Linked DNA regions of Homo sapiens: regions 1, 2 and 3 are each linked to region 4. Evidence: promoter capture Hi-C in human tissues and cell types (Jung and others, 2019). All regions are on one chromosome and are shown on one strand. Each heading gives the region's core, a stretch centred on a gene start or on the middle of the fragment in contact. The rest is flanking DNA. Distances are from core to core; before and after follow the strand shown.

The links. Contacts are between HindIII fragments. The study calls those that stand out against the background at their distance.
Region 1: a fragment that was not itself captured here is called in contact with the fragment with the promoter of CCDC63 in region 4 in 3 of the 25 tissues and cell types used here (dorsolateral prefrontal cortex, lymphoblastoid cells and spleen).
Region 2: a contact is called between a fragment that was not itself captured here and the fragment with the promoter of CCDC63 in region 4, in 1 of the 25 tissues and cell types used here (spleen).
Region 3: a fragment that was not itself captured here is called in contact with the fragment with the promoter of CCDC63 in region 4 in 1 of the 25 tissues and cell types used here (spleen).

What each region holds. Positions count from the first base shown.
Region 1 is chr12:110,505,815-110,509,640 of GRCh38, forward strand. RAD9B (RAD9 checkpoint clamp component B) reads left to right here. Exons shown (of 11, transcript NM_001286535.2): 4 at 765-879. Among named protein-coding and RNA genes, the nearest start is that of RAD9B, 5.4 kb to the left of the region's middle. The HindIII fragment of the contact is 8,113 bases long and covers 1-3,826 here.
Region 2 is chr12:110,523,605-110,526,877 of GRCh38, forward strand. The region is part of intron 10 of RAD9B (RAD9 checkpoint clamp component B); the gene reads left to right. Among named protein-coding and RNA genes, the nearest start is that of RAD9B, 23 kb to the left of the region's middle. The HindIII fragment of the contact is 3,993 bases long and covers 1-3,273 here.
Region 3 is chr12:110,478,822-110,482,150 of GRCh38, forward strand. The region is part of intron 2 of FAM216A (family with sequence similarity 216 member A); the gene reads left to right. The region is part of intron 1 of LOC124903016 (a long non-coding RNA gene); the gene reads right to left. Among named protein-coding and RNA genes, the nearest start is that of FAM216A, 12 kb to the left of the region's middle. The HindIII fragment of the contact is 7,273 bases long and covers 1-3,329 here.
Region 4 is chr12:110,845,439-110,849,165 of GRCh38, forward strand. It overlaps CCDC63 (coiled-coil domain containing 63), which reads left to right and starts at 1,549. Exons shown (of 12, transcript NM_152591.3): 1 at 1,549-1,667. The HindIII fragment of the contact is 19,678 bases long and covers 1-3,727 here.

The sequences.
Region 1 (3,826 bases), core at 149-2,648, 340 kb before region 4:
ATTCATTATATAGGACATAACCTGTATTCTATACTTAATAGTTTAAATGGCATTCAGGACAAATCTGTTCATTATTATTATTATTTTTGAGACAGAGTCTCGCTTTCTTACCCAGGCTGGAGTGCAGTGGTGCAATCTTGGCTCACTGCAACCTCTGCCTCCCAGTTTCAAGTGATTTTTGTGCCTCAGCCTCCCAAGTAGCTGGGATTATAGGCGTGTGCCACCATGCCTGGCTAATTTTTGTGTTTTTAATAGAGATGAGGGTTTCGCCATGTTGGCCAGGCTGGTCTTGAACTCCTGACCTCAAGTGATCTGCCCACCTCGGCCTCCCAAAGTGCTGGGATTACAGGCGTGAGCCAGTGCACCTGGCCAAGTCTGTTCATTTTTTTTTTGAGACGGAGTCTCGCTTTGTCGCCCAGGCTGGAGTGCGGTGGCACAATCTCGGCTCACTGCAAGCTCTGCCTCCCGGGTTCACGCCATTCTCCTGCCTCAGCCTCCCGAGTAGCTGGGACTACAGGCGCCCGCCACTACGCCTGGCTAATTTTTTCTATTTTTAGTAGAGACGGGGTTTCACTGTGTTAGCCAGGATGGTCTCGATCTCCTGACCTCGTGATCCGCCCGCCTCGGCCTCCCAAAGTGCTGGGATTACAGGCGTGAGCCACCGCGCCTGGCCAAGTCTGTTCATTTATGAATGCATATACTTTTGTTTCTAAAATGAATCAACCATGTTAAGTATGTGCTTAATATGTATATTTCTGTTACAGTCAATTTTGCCCATCTTTAGATGTCTGAATTCCCTTGAAAGAAATATAGAGAAGTGCAGAATATTCACCAGATCTGATAAATGCAAAGTAGTTATTCAATTCTTCTACAGACATGGTAGGTATAATTAAAAGTGGTTTAAAATACTATGTTTTTTTCTCAATAGTTTTCATGTTTAGAACATTGATATTTCATGTCAAGATTTCTCGTTACATTATTGCTTAGAGTGTGTGTAGTTAAGTGGTAGGGCAGTTTGAAGTATTATCCTTTTTTTTTTTTTTGAGATGGAGTCTTGCTCTGTCGCCAAGGCTGGAGTGCAATGCCGCCATCTCAGCTCACTGCGACCTCCACCTCGTGGGTTCAAGCAGTTCTCCCGCCTCAGCCTCCCAAGTAGCTGGGATTACAGGCACCTGCCATCATGCCCAGCTAATTTTTGTATTTTTAGTAGAGACGGGGTTTCACCGTGTTGGCCAGGCTGATCTCGAACTCCTGACCTCAGGTGATCTGCCCACCTGCCTCGGCCTCCCAAAGTGCTGGGATGAGCCACTGCACCTGGCCTGAGCCAGGCATGAGCCACTGCACCTGGCCTGAAGTATTATCTTACCTGTCACTGTAGAAGTATTGTAAGATGATCGGTATTATTTCTTTTTTTGACTTGTCAGTGGCACAAGCTTTGCCTGCATACAGCCTAATTTTTTTCAAATATCCGTATGAATTCAAGCAATTGGTTGTTCTAAAATTTACTAGCTGCTTGATTATATATATGTATATTATATATATAATATGTATTATATATAATATATGTATTATATATAATATATAATATATGTATTAAATATAATATATAATATATATGTATTAAATATAATATATAACACGTATTAAGTATAATATATATGTATTAAATATAATACATAATATATGTATTAAATATAATACATAATATATGTATTAAATATAATACATAATATATGTATTAAATATATATGTATTATATATGTATAATATATACATAATACATATTATGTATACATATATACATAATATTATATACATAATGTATAACATATATACATATATATATTCATTTTGAGATGGAGTTTCGCTCTTGTTGCCCAGGCTGGAGTGCAATGGCATGATCTTGGCTCACTGCAACCTCTACCTCCTGGGTTCAAGCAATTCTCCTGCCTCAGCCTGCTGAGTAGCTAGGATTACAGGCATGCTTCACCATGCCCGGCTAATTTTGTATTTTTAGTAGAGATGGGGTTTTACCATGTTGGTCAGGCAGGTCTGAAACTCCTGACCTCAGATGATCTGCCGGCCTTGACCTCCCAAAGTGCTGGGATTGCAGGTGTGAACTACCGCGCCTGGCTGTATTTCTTAATTTAATCTTACATTTATTATAATATATTTTTATTTCAGCATATATTTATAGTCTTTAAATTGTTTCCTATAAAATACTAATAATTTAACATTATTTTTTCCTTCTTTGAACTTCAGTTCATTTAATAGCAGAATGATTCAAAGAGCATGATTAAAAGCATAGCAAGCCTTGACATCACAAAGATGTGCGTGTAAATTCTTCTCCACTTATTAGTTTTGGGACAGTGCATAAGCTCTCTGAATCTTCATTCCTTACTGTGAAGTGGAGATGATCATGCCTACCCACAAGTTACGGGGTGATTGTGAGGATGAAGTGAGATCACATATGTAAAGTACATACCGCAGTACCTGCCCCAGGGGGAGTACTTGTTAGTGATTGCTGTTACTATAATTATCCTCTTTCCTTATCTCCAACTAGATTTTAGACAGAAAGTGAATACTTGGTATTCAGTATCTCTCAAGTAGCTTACTTGAGTCATGTCCAGTAAGTATTTGTGATTGGTTAATTATTTAATGGTTTTTATAGGGTAGTTATATGATACTATGCCTTAGGTTACAAGTAACAAATAAAAACAGACGGTCCAACTCAAACTAGCTTAAAAAATAAAGTATTGGCTCATGTAAACAAAAAATTCAAAATTAAGTCACAGGCATGGTTGTTTTTGTTTTTGTTCTTAATTTTTGTAGAGTCAGGGTCTCGTCATGTTGCCCAGGCTGGTCTCAAACTCCTGGGCTCAAGCAATTCTCCTGCCTTGGCCTCCCAGAGTGCTGGGATTACAGGCATGAGCCACCGCCATGGTTTGATCCAGGGTGCAGCTTCTTTTCTTTTCTTTTCTTTTTTTTGAAACAAAGTCTCACTCTGTCACCCAGGATGGAGCAGGATGGAGTGCAGTGGCGTGATCTTGGCTCACTGCAGCCTTGACTTCCCAGACTCAGGTGATCCTCCTACCTCAGCCTCCAGAGTAGCTGGGATCACAGGAGCGTGCCACCATACCTGGCTAATTTTTTTATTTTAATTTTTTTAAGACGGAGTCTGGTTCTGTCGCCCAGGCTGGAGTGCAGTGGTGCGATCTCAGCTCACTGCAAGCTCCGCCTCCTGGGTTCACGCCATTCTCCTGCCTCAGCCTCTCGAGTAGTTGGGACTACAGGCGCCTGCCACCATGCCCGGCTAACTTTTTTTTTGTATTTTTAGTAGAGACGGGGTTTCAACGTCTTAGCCAGGATGATCTCGATCTCCTGACCTCGTGATCTGCCCTCCTTGGCCTTCCAAAGTGCTGGAATTACAGGCATAAGCCACCATGCCCGGCCCTAATTTTTTATATTGTTTGTAGAGATGGGGTTTCACCATGTTGCCCAGGCTGGTCTTGAACTCTTGGGCTCAAGTGATCTGCTTGCCTCAGCCTCCCAAGTGCTGGGATTATAGGAATGAGCAACCACGCCCACCACACCTGGCTAATTTTTTTTTCACACCTGGCTAATTTTTAAAAAAATTTTAATAGATAACAAGGTCTCACTGTGTTTTGGAAGCTGGTCTCAAACTCCTGAGCCAGGCAGTCCTCTTGCCTCAGCCTCCTAATGTGCTGGAATTACAGGTGTGAGCCACCATGCCCAGCCTGGGATGGCAGTCTAAGATGAAGGAGAAGTGTGAAAAAATACCGGTTGAGGGTGTCTAGTGTGTGCT
Region 2 (3,273 bases), core at 128-2,627, 320 kb before region 4:
AAATCTGTGTTCTCATTGTACAAAAGCATTGTCCCCTCCTATTTTTCTAGTCACACATATTGTACTTACTTTTTCACAGGCAACAACAGGAATCATCTTCCTGCTGCTTCAGGTCCCTGAAATTCACTAAGATTGCCAGTTTCTTTGCTAGAGAAAATGACATTTAGAACTTTAATCTCCATGAGCACCATTACAGCACTCTTTACTCCAAATTTCCTATTGTGTCACCAAATTCTTGAAAGAAGGCTCTATTTTTAAAGGGAATTATTTGCCTTAATGTGGCAAACTCCTGCAAAGCTGAAATTACATTATGGGTAAATGATGTAGACCCTTATCATGTTCTGCCTGAAATTCCATGGGCTTCCTGCCATCCTCTGTGCCTCTGTTCTCCTTCACCCTGCTTCTCTTCCACAGTGTACTCATAGATTTTTGTCCAAACCTGAGGTCTACAGTGAGGCCCAGGGGTTCAGAGCCCTGGCTCTAGAGTTCAAATGCCAAGGTTCAAACCTCTCTCTTACCACGTATTAACTGCGTAACTTGGACAAGTTATTTATTTTGCCTTCAGTTTCCTTAGTAAAATGGGGGTAATAATAATTATGCCCACTAAATGGAATTGTAAAGATTGAGCTAAAGATGCAACAGGCACATGGTCAGTGCTTGATAAAATTTAGTTATTGGCTGGGCACAGTGTCTCATGCCTGTAATCCCAGCACTTTGGGAGGCAGAGGCGGGCAGATCACGAGGTCAGGAGTTCAAGACCAGCCTGGCCAAGATTGGTGAAACCCTGTCTCTACTAAAAATACAAAAATAAGCTGGGCATGGTGGCGGGCGCCTGTAATCCCAGCTACTCAGGAGGCTGAGGCAGGAGAATTGCTTGAATCCGGGAGGCGGAGATTGCAGTGAGCTGAGATCGTGCCATTGCACTCTAGCCTGGGCGACAGAGCAAGACTCCGTCTCAAAAAGAAAAAAATTATTGTTGTTACTTATCACTCTCTTGCTTTTAAAACTCTTAGATTGGCCGGCGTGGTGGCTCATGCCTGTAATCCCAGCATTTTGGGAGGCCGAGGTGGGCAGATCACAAGGTCAAGAGATCGAGACCATCCTGGCCAACATGGTGAAACCCCGTCTCTACTGCGAATACAAAAATTAGCCAGATATGGTTGGCCAGGCTGGTCTCAAACTTCTGGCCTCAAGTGATCTGCCTGCCTTGGCCTCCCAAAATGCTGGGATTACAGGCATGAGTCACTGTGCCTGGCCTCCACATTTAATATTCAGTATAACAGTACAATGATCATTTCATTGAACAAAAATCAGAAAATACAAATAAGAGATAATCACTTCAAATATTTTGATTATTACTCTGCCTTTAAGACTTTCTTCTTTTTATTTATTTGGTTTTTTTTAGACGGAGTTTCATTTTCGCCCAGGCTAGATTGCAGTGGTGCAATCTGGTTCACTGCAACCTCCACCTCCCGGGTTCAAGTGATTCTCCTGCCTCAGCCTCCTGAGTAGCTGGGAATACAGGTGCCTACCACCACGCCCAGCTAATTTTTTTGTATTTTTTTTAGTAGAGACGGGGTTTTACCATGTTGGCCAGGATGGTCTCGATCTCCCGACCTCAGGTGATCCACTCGCCTTGGCCTCCCAAAGTGCTGGGGTTACAGGTGTGAGCCACTGTGTCTGGCCAGTTTTTGTATTTTTAGTAGAGACGGGGTTTCACCATGTTGCCCAGGCTGGTCTCAAACTCCTGACCTCAAGTGATCCGCCCTCCTTGGCTTCCCAAAGTGCTGGGATTACAGGTATGAGCCACTGCACCCAGCCCGCTTTGTCCTTTACTTTGACATTTTAGTAGAATGTCCTAACTTTGGGTTTTTTCTGTGTTTCCTCATGATTCAATTTAAACTATGTATTTTTGGTAAGAATTCAACAGAGTAATAATGTTGGGTTCTCTTTGTACATCGTATCTGGAGGCACAGGTTGGTTTTTCTCCATATTGGTGGTGTTAATTTCCATCATATGGTCAAGGTGGTGTCTGCCGGCTCTCTACTATATAGTTACTGTTTTTCTTTTAGCAACTGGTAAGTATTTTGTGGAGAGATACTTTGATACTATGTCTCACTCTGTTGCCTAGGCTGGAGTGCAGTGGCATGATCTTGGCTCACTGCAACCTCTGCCACTCGGGTTCAAGTGATTCTCCTACCTCAGCCTCTCGAGTAGCTGAGATTACAGGCGCCTGTCACCACACCTGGCTAATTTTTGTAGTTTTTAGTAGAGACAGGGTTTCACCATCTTGGCCAGGCTGGTCTTGAACTCCTGACCTCGTGATCCACCCGCCTTGGCCTCCCAAAGTGCTGGGATTACAGGCGTGAGCCACTGCACCTGGCCACGCCCAGCTAATTTTTGTATTTTTTTGGTAGAGCCAGGGTTTCACTGTGTTGGCCAGGCTGGTCTCGGACACCTGACCTCAGGTGATCCACCTGCCTTGGCCTCCCAAAGTCTGGGATTACAGGCATGAGCCACCCCGCCTGGCCTGCTGTGGATTTTTTATTAAGTTTAAACTAGAAGTTATACACAGCTCTCAGGGGCATCAAAATAGGGACAATATGTATATTAGTAAAAAAAAAAAGATTTTATAATTCTCTTCCTACCCAACTCATATTAGACTTGAAGTTAATTTCTAGTTGCATGGGTGTTCTCAAGCTTCCTCCATTAGATTACTAGACATGGAGAAGGGCCCCATTATCCAGCCATATGAGACTTACAGGCTGAAGGTGGGGACAAGGGAGGGTAGCAAATAGCATTTACTCTAAGCCAGTAGCAAATTCAGGGCAGCTCTCAAAGATTAAAGAAAACCTCAGCTTTCAAGTCTCATATAGCACCACAAACATTATCAAGAGCTATTTGCACGTGATGATATACACTGAACAGACACAGGTGCTGTATTTAGGTCTTTTCTAGCCTTAGGTTCTTGACCTTGGTGAAGACTAGACTCTTTAGAGGCAATTGAAACCATGCCTCCAATTGGTCGGGCACGGTGGCTCATGCCTGTAATCCCAGCACTTTGGGAGACCGAGACAGGCAGATCACGAGGTCAGGAGATCAAGACCATCCTAGCTAACACGGTGAAACCCCATCTCTACTAAAAATACAAAAAACTAGCTGGGTGTGGTGGCGGGCGCCTGTAGTCCCAGCTACTTGGGAGGCTGAGGCAGGAGAATGGCATGAACCCAGGAGGCGGAGCTTGCAGTGAGCTGAGATCATGCCACCGCACTC
Region 3 (3,329 bases), core at 717-3,216, 370 kb before region 4:
TGTTTTAAGCCGCTAAAGTTGTGTTGTTATGGCAGCAAAATGAAACTAACATAGAGCCCCTTTTTAAAAAATTGTATATATTTAAGGCCGGGCGCGGTGGCTCACGTCTGTAATCCCAGCACTTTGGGAGGCCGAGGCGGGTGGATCACGAGGTTAAGAGATCGAGACCATCCTGGCTAACACGGTGAAACCCCCGTCTCTACTAAAAATACAAAAAATTAGCCGGGCGTCGTGGCTGGCGCCTGTAGTCCCAGCTACTCGGGAGGCTGAGGCAGGAGAATGGCGTGAACCTGGGAGGCGGAGCTTGCAGTGAGCCTGGGCAACAGAGCGAGACTCTGTCTCAAAAAAAAAAAAAAATTATATATTTAAAGTAGAGAAGAGTACGTAGAAACCAAGATCTGGGTGCTAGGTGTGCTTATTTATAATATACTTTCATTGCTTCTAGACTTTCTCCGAGGACAGTGCTGGGAAAGAAATGTGTGTGCATTTACCTGTGAGCACATACATACCCATACATATCTATTTCAATATTTCTACTAACTCCAAATTCCAATCCAACAAACAGGGTTTATTCTGTGCTTTCCTCTTTCCATATTAATAGGTAACTCGTCTCCAAAAGTGTGAGACCTGCTTATTAACTACAATATATTATTTGCTTCGTCCTAAGATGTATAAAAAAGTAGTTTCTAAAGTGCTAACACATGCTTCTGAAAAAAAAAAAAAAGAAGCCTAGTAGGCTGGGCGCAGTGGCTCACGCCTGTAATTCCAGCACTTTGGAAGGCTGAGGTAGGTGGATCACGAGGTCAGGAGATTGAGACCATTCTGGCCAACATGATGAAACCCCGTCTCTACTAAAAATACAAAAAATTAGCTGGGCATGGTGGCGCGTGTCTGTAATCCCAGCTACTTGGGAGACTGAGGCAGGAGAATCACTTGAACCAGGGAGTTGGAGGTTGCAGTGAGCAGAGATCGCGCCACTGCACTCCAGCCTGGCGACAGAGCAAGGCTCCATCTAAAAAAAAACCCAAAAAAAACAAAAAACAAAACAACAAAAAAAAGCCTAGTAGTTAATTAGAGATCAGTATTTGCTTAGAGTTGTTTTTGTTTGAGGGCATATAGTCCAAGCAGTATATTCAAAAGTTCTTGGGTTGGTTAACTATTTATTTGTGGTAAAATATACATAATATAAAATTTACTATTTTAATCTTTTTTTTTTTCTTTGAGATGGAGTTTCGCTCTTGTTGCCCAGGCTGGAGTGCAATGGCTCGATCTCGGCTCACTGCAACCGCTGCCTCCTGAGTTCAAGCGATTCTCCTGCCTCAGCCTCCTGAGTAGCTGGGATTACAGGTGCACCCCCACCACGCCTAGCTAATTTTTTTTTTTTTTTTTTTTTTTTTTTTGAGATGGAGTCTCACTCTGTTGCCCAGTCCGGAGTGCAGTGGCACGATCTTGGCTCACTGCAAGCTCCACCTCCCGGGTTCACGCCATTCTCCTGCCTCAGCCTCCTGAGTAGCTGGGACTACAGGCGCCTGCCACCATGCTTGGCTAATTTTTTTATATTTTTCTAGAGACGGGGTTTCACCATGTTAGCCAGGATGGTCTCGATCTCCTGACCTCGTGATCCGCCCGCCTCGGCCTCCCAAAGTGCTGGGATTAAAGGTGTGAGCCACCACGCCCAGCCTAAGGGTTTCACCATGTAGGCCAGGCTGGTCTCAAACTCCTGGACTCAAGTGATCTGCCCGCCTCAGCCTCCCAAAGTGCTGGGATGTATAGGCATGAGCCAATGCACCTGGCCCATTTTAATCATTTTTAAGTGTACATTTCAGTGGCATTAAGTATATTCACACTGTTGTGCAACCACTACCACCATCCATTTCCAGAAAGTTTTCATCTTCCCAAACTAAAACTCCGTACCTATAAAACACTAACTCTCAGGTGGGTGCAGTGGCTCGTGTGTGTAATCCCAGCACTTTGGGAGGCTAGGGCTGGAGGATCGCTGGAGCCCAGGAGTTTGAGACCAGCCTGGGCAACATAAAATTAACTTTAGTTTTTTTTGTCTCTAAAAGAAAATTTAAAAACAAAATAAAAAACCACTAATTCCCTATATACCTCCTTTCCCCTGACCTCTTGCAACCTCCATTCTTTCACTCCGTATATATTTGATTTTCCTAGGTATCTCATAAAAGTTAAATCATACAATATTTGTCCTTTGTGACTGGCTTATTTCACTTAGCATGTCTTCAGGGTTCATCCATATTGTACCATGTGTCTGAATTCTCTTATTTTTTTAAAGCTAAATAATATTCCATTGTTTGTATATACCACATTTTGTTTATATATTCACCTGTTGATGGATACTTGGGTTTCTTCCACTTTTTGGCTATTATGAAGTAATGCTGCTATGAGCATGGATAAATAATCTGTTTGAGTCCCTGCTTTCAGTTCTTTTGGAATTGCTGGATCAGAAGTGGAATTATTAGATTATATGGCAATTCTATGTTTAAATGTTCGAGGCACTGCCATACTATTTTTCTTTTTCTTTTGAGTCAGTCTCACTCTGTCACCCAGGCTGGAGTGCAGTTGCAGTAACTCAGCTCACTGCAACCTCTGCCTGCCAGGTTCAAGTGATTCTTCTGCCTCAGCCTCCCAAGTAGCTGGGATTACAGGGGTGTGACACCATGCCTGGCTAAGTATTTTGTGTGTGTGGTTTTTTTTTTTTTTTAGTAGAGACGGGTTTCACCATGTTGCCCAGGCTTGGTCTCGACTCCCAACCTCAGGTGATCTGCCTGCCTCAGCCTCCCAAGGTACTGGGGTTATACAGGCATGAGCCACCATGCCCAGCCTATTTATTTTTAAGTGCTTCATTTTCTGTAAAGAAATGTTATCAAGCTATTGAGAAATTAAGTGTTGGTCCAAAATATAATATGCATCTCAGAAATATTGTTTATTAAGGACACAATTCATATTCTTATATAAATAGCCTCTGTTTACAACTTGAAAAAGGATTTCCAAAACAAAAAACTTTTAAAAATCTTAAATTGGCATTCATATTATTACAGATTATAAGTTATGTTTCAAGGGTCATAATACAATTTCCAAATGATTTTCCATTTCTTGGTCAACTAGTTAGTCCTTACCTGTAGTATCCAACTTGCCAAAATCTTGAAGAAATAACTAAATTTAAAGTTTAATACAAAACTGAAATAGCCTGTTATTAATAATATTGAAACAAAAATGTGCTTATTGAATTCAACTAACTATATACTTTTTTTTTTTTTGAGACAGAGTCTCACTCTGTCACCCAGGCTGGAGTGCAGTGTTGCGATCTC
Region 4 (3,727 bases), core at 299-2,798:
AAACTCGGTTTCTCTAAGTCTGTTTCCCCATCTGTAAAATGAGGATGGTCAAGTGTATCCAAAACACTTCATATGAATCATTTGGAGGCAAGGCCTGACATGTAGCTGTTCATAATCTATCCTTATCTTACTTGACATGAATATTGATGTTTCCTTGCAGAAACAGTAATTCGTTTGATCTGGACTGTGTGGCCCGAACCCTGTATGTAATATACTGTCCCACTGACTTCCCTCATGGTTACAACGTGGCTGCCAGCAACATTAGGGGCAACATACTCCCTTGCGTACCATATTATCTTTCTGAAACCAAAAACATGGTAAGTTCTTTTTTTTTTTTTTGAAACGGAGTCTCACTCTGTCACCCAGGCTGGAGTGAGTGTGATCTTGGCTCACGGCAACCTTTGCCTCCTGGGTTCAAGCAATTCTCCTGCCCTAGCCTCCCGAGTAGCAGAGACTACAGGCACCCACCGGGTGTGTGCCACCATGCCGGGCTAAATTTGTTATATTTTTAGTAGAAATACAAAAAAAAAAAAAAAAAAAAAAGAAATACACAGGGTTTCACCATGTTGGCCAGGCTGGTCTTGAGCTCCTGACCTTAAATGATCTACCTGCCTCAGCCTCCCAAAGTGCTAGGATTATAGGCATGAGCCAGCGCACCTGGCCTCCAAAATATGGTAAGTTCTAAAACACACATCCTGTCCCAAGAATTTACGGATGAAGTGGAGACCTTAGCAGGGCTGAGCTACTACAATCCACTCAGGGGGCTAGGAGTTAAAGTGGAAATCACATGGAATCAAAATTACTGTAGAAAACAGGTACCCCCAATAATTTTCCATTAATTCTGTGATTGTTTCTAGAGCTTAGCCCCAGAGAAAGTAGTTGACTTGTGTTTCAGGGCCGATTGTATGAAAAATGTGTATCTTTAAACCACTAAACTCCGTTAGGGCAGTGAAAAGCTCACTTGCCTGGATCACACTTGGGTTCCCGTGTTATGCTCACAGTGGGTGGGGGTCAGGTGGATGTTCTGAAGAAAATTCTCCTGCACTGATGAAGTTATTTTTCTCATGAAATATCTCTTTCCCCCCCCGCCCCAACATTTTTTTTTAATTTATTTTTACTTTATTTTATTTTTCAGAGTAGAAAAAACTGGGCTCCTTTGAGTTAGCTGCGTGTGAAGTCTGTACCTAGCAGGGCTGCTGTGAGCATGAGTGTAGGTGTAGGCTAAGAAGACGGTGAATGGGGTGTGAGTGGGGCGAGGTGGACCAGCGATTGCATGGCGTTGGCCGAGGGAGGGGCTAAGACTGTTGATTGACTCAAGAAGTCACTTAGCGTCATGAGGGTCCGGGTAGTCTGGTAAGGGGTCGCTGGAGAGTGTGTCGCCCCTCTCCCCCAACCAAAAGCTTCCCTCCAACCAGCTGCTCTTGTCCTCTCCTCCCGAGGGCCCTGTGCCCTCCCAGCGGACTTGCAGGGGAGAACGTCCATGTTTGTGCGAGTCACAAAGGCGCCCGTTCCAGGGGTCCCAGAACGCCCGGGCGTGGGGCTGGGGGTGTGGCGCAGCGAGGCCGCGCAGCAAGCAGTCCTCCCGGCACCGTCGGAAGCGCAGTTGCAGCAGCCGTCGGACAAGCGGCCGGAGCAGCCACGGACAAGCAGTCCGGGCCCCGCCACTGGTAAGTTTCGCCGCCCGCCCGGCCGCGCCTGCTGCGCCACAGCTCCCCCTGCCAGGGAAAAGGAAAGAGCGGTCGCGGTCCCCAGTCCATTCATATCTCGCTGCCCTAAGCGTTGAAAGTATCAGGGTCTCCCGCAATCATGCATAAATAAATTGTAGTGTGTAAAATAACTCCAGAGCCGCGCGAGGTGGCTCATGCCTGTAATTCTAGCACTTTGGGAGGCTGAGGCAAGAGGATCGCTTGAGCCCAGGGGTTCGAGACCAGCTCGGGCAAATTCGTCTTTACAAAATATTTAAAAACTTAGCCGGGCGTGGTGGTGCCACCTGTAGTCCCAGCTTCTTGGGAGGCTGAAGGGGGAGGATCGCTTAAGCCCGGGAAGGTTGAGGCTGCAGTGAGCCGAGATTGAACCACTGCACGCTAGCCTGGGTGACAGAGAGAGAGAGAGACGCTCTCAAAAAAGGAAAAAAAAAAAGTTCAACAAATTTTTATTTTCCTCCCATAATAATCCTTAAAAAACAAAAAACAAAACAAACAAACAAAAAACAAGAAAAACAACAACAACAACAAAAAACTGTGTATGTGTTTCTGTGCTCCTGTTTGGCTAGTGCCCTAAGCACATGTTTAATTCCAGGTTGTGCAGCCCTGGCTCAATATGATCCACATAGCTGCCTGTCCCAAGGTCCCTAGGGAATCCTTCGGGGGCAGGCTTGTCTTTTAAAGGCAGGTTGTTAAAATTCAGAAGCAGATGAGGTGCAGGCCTAATTAGATATTAGATAAATGAAGATGATCTCTGCCTGGAGGAAACTTCATTCATTCAAACTGTATTTGCCAAGAGCTGCCCATGCGCCCAGGACTATGGATGCTGTGGTGAATAGACTGAGGCCCAAGGGGCAGGAGGCCCTTGCCTGACGTCCCCTGACCTGGGCTGCTGGGCTTCTCTGCACTTTTCCTCGCACACGCTGTTCCCCAGAAGTGGGCAGCTTTTAGATTCCTAACAGGAACTGCAAATTCAAATTCCTACTGGCTCTAGGCAGTTACAGAAAATGTGAGAATTGTGGGGAGGGGAGCTTAGCCAATAGGGAGGAGTGGGGCCTGTGGCCAGGAGAGTGAGTGCATGACCCACATTTATGTTTTGAAACACTGTGGAACAGAACTGGAGGTAGGTTGAATTGGCCCCATGGACTATGAGTTTCAGACCCTTGAATGAGAGGGTGGTAAGCCAGGGGTCAGGACATCCAGGAGATGCTCTGCAGGCCAAGCTATGAGGATGGGGGTGAGGGGGTGGATCTGTTCCCCAGGGAATGTAGGAGCCCATCCCAGAGGGCACTGATCGAAAGGGAAAGGCCTGGGTTAACATCTGGAACCTGAAGAGAAGCCAGCACCCTAGGGGAGAGTGACTATGTATGCGCATATGGATCAGCAAAAAGGCAGGAGGTGATGGAGCTTTTGGTTCCTGGAGAATGGTGCATAACCCAGCCAATGATCTCATGGGCCAGACAGACTGGTACTTGAAAATCCCACTTCACAAACAGGCTACGTTCGCCCAGCGTCTGTCATGAGCTAGGCACTATGCTAACCACTTTACAGACATTATTTTGCGCTGAGATATGGGTGTGGGTATCCCCATTCTACAGATGAGGAAACTGAAGCTCAGAGAGGTCAAATCACACTGTCAGTGAAGGTCAGATATACCCAGTTCATGTTATTAAGATGGTGCATTACAAATCCACTTAGGACCCAAAGGGCCCTGGAACATAGAACAGCTCCTGGACAATATGAAATTGGAGCTGCCCCAAATTCCAGGGCTGAAAGAGGTCCCAGAGAGAGCATCCTGTGCCCAAACCTTGTTAGTCAGGTAAATCCTCCTACAGCTTCTACTCCTACCTGGAGGACCCTTCCAGAAATGATCAAGATACAGAACCATTGTCTTATACCACTTCCCTGCCTGTGGGAATTTCCCAACATCAGACAATTCAGTTGGCCCCCAAACCCTCAAAAACATCAGGGAAAATCCAGAGGTTCCTACATTACCAGCCACTATTTTCCTATCACCCATTAAC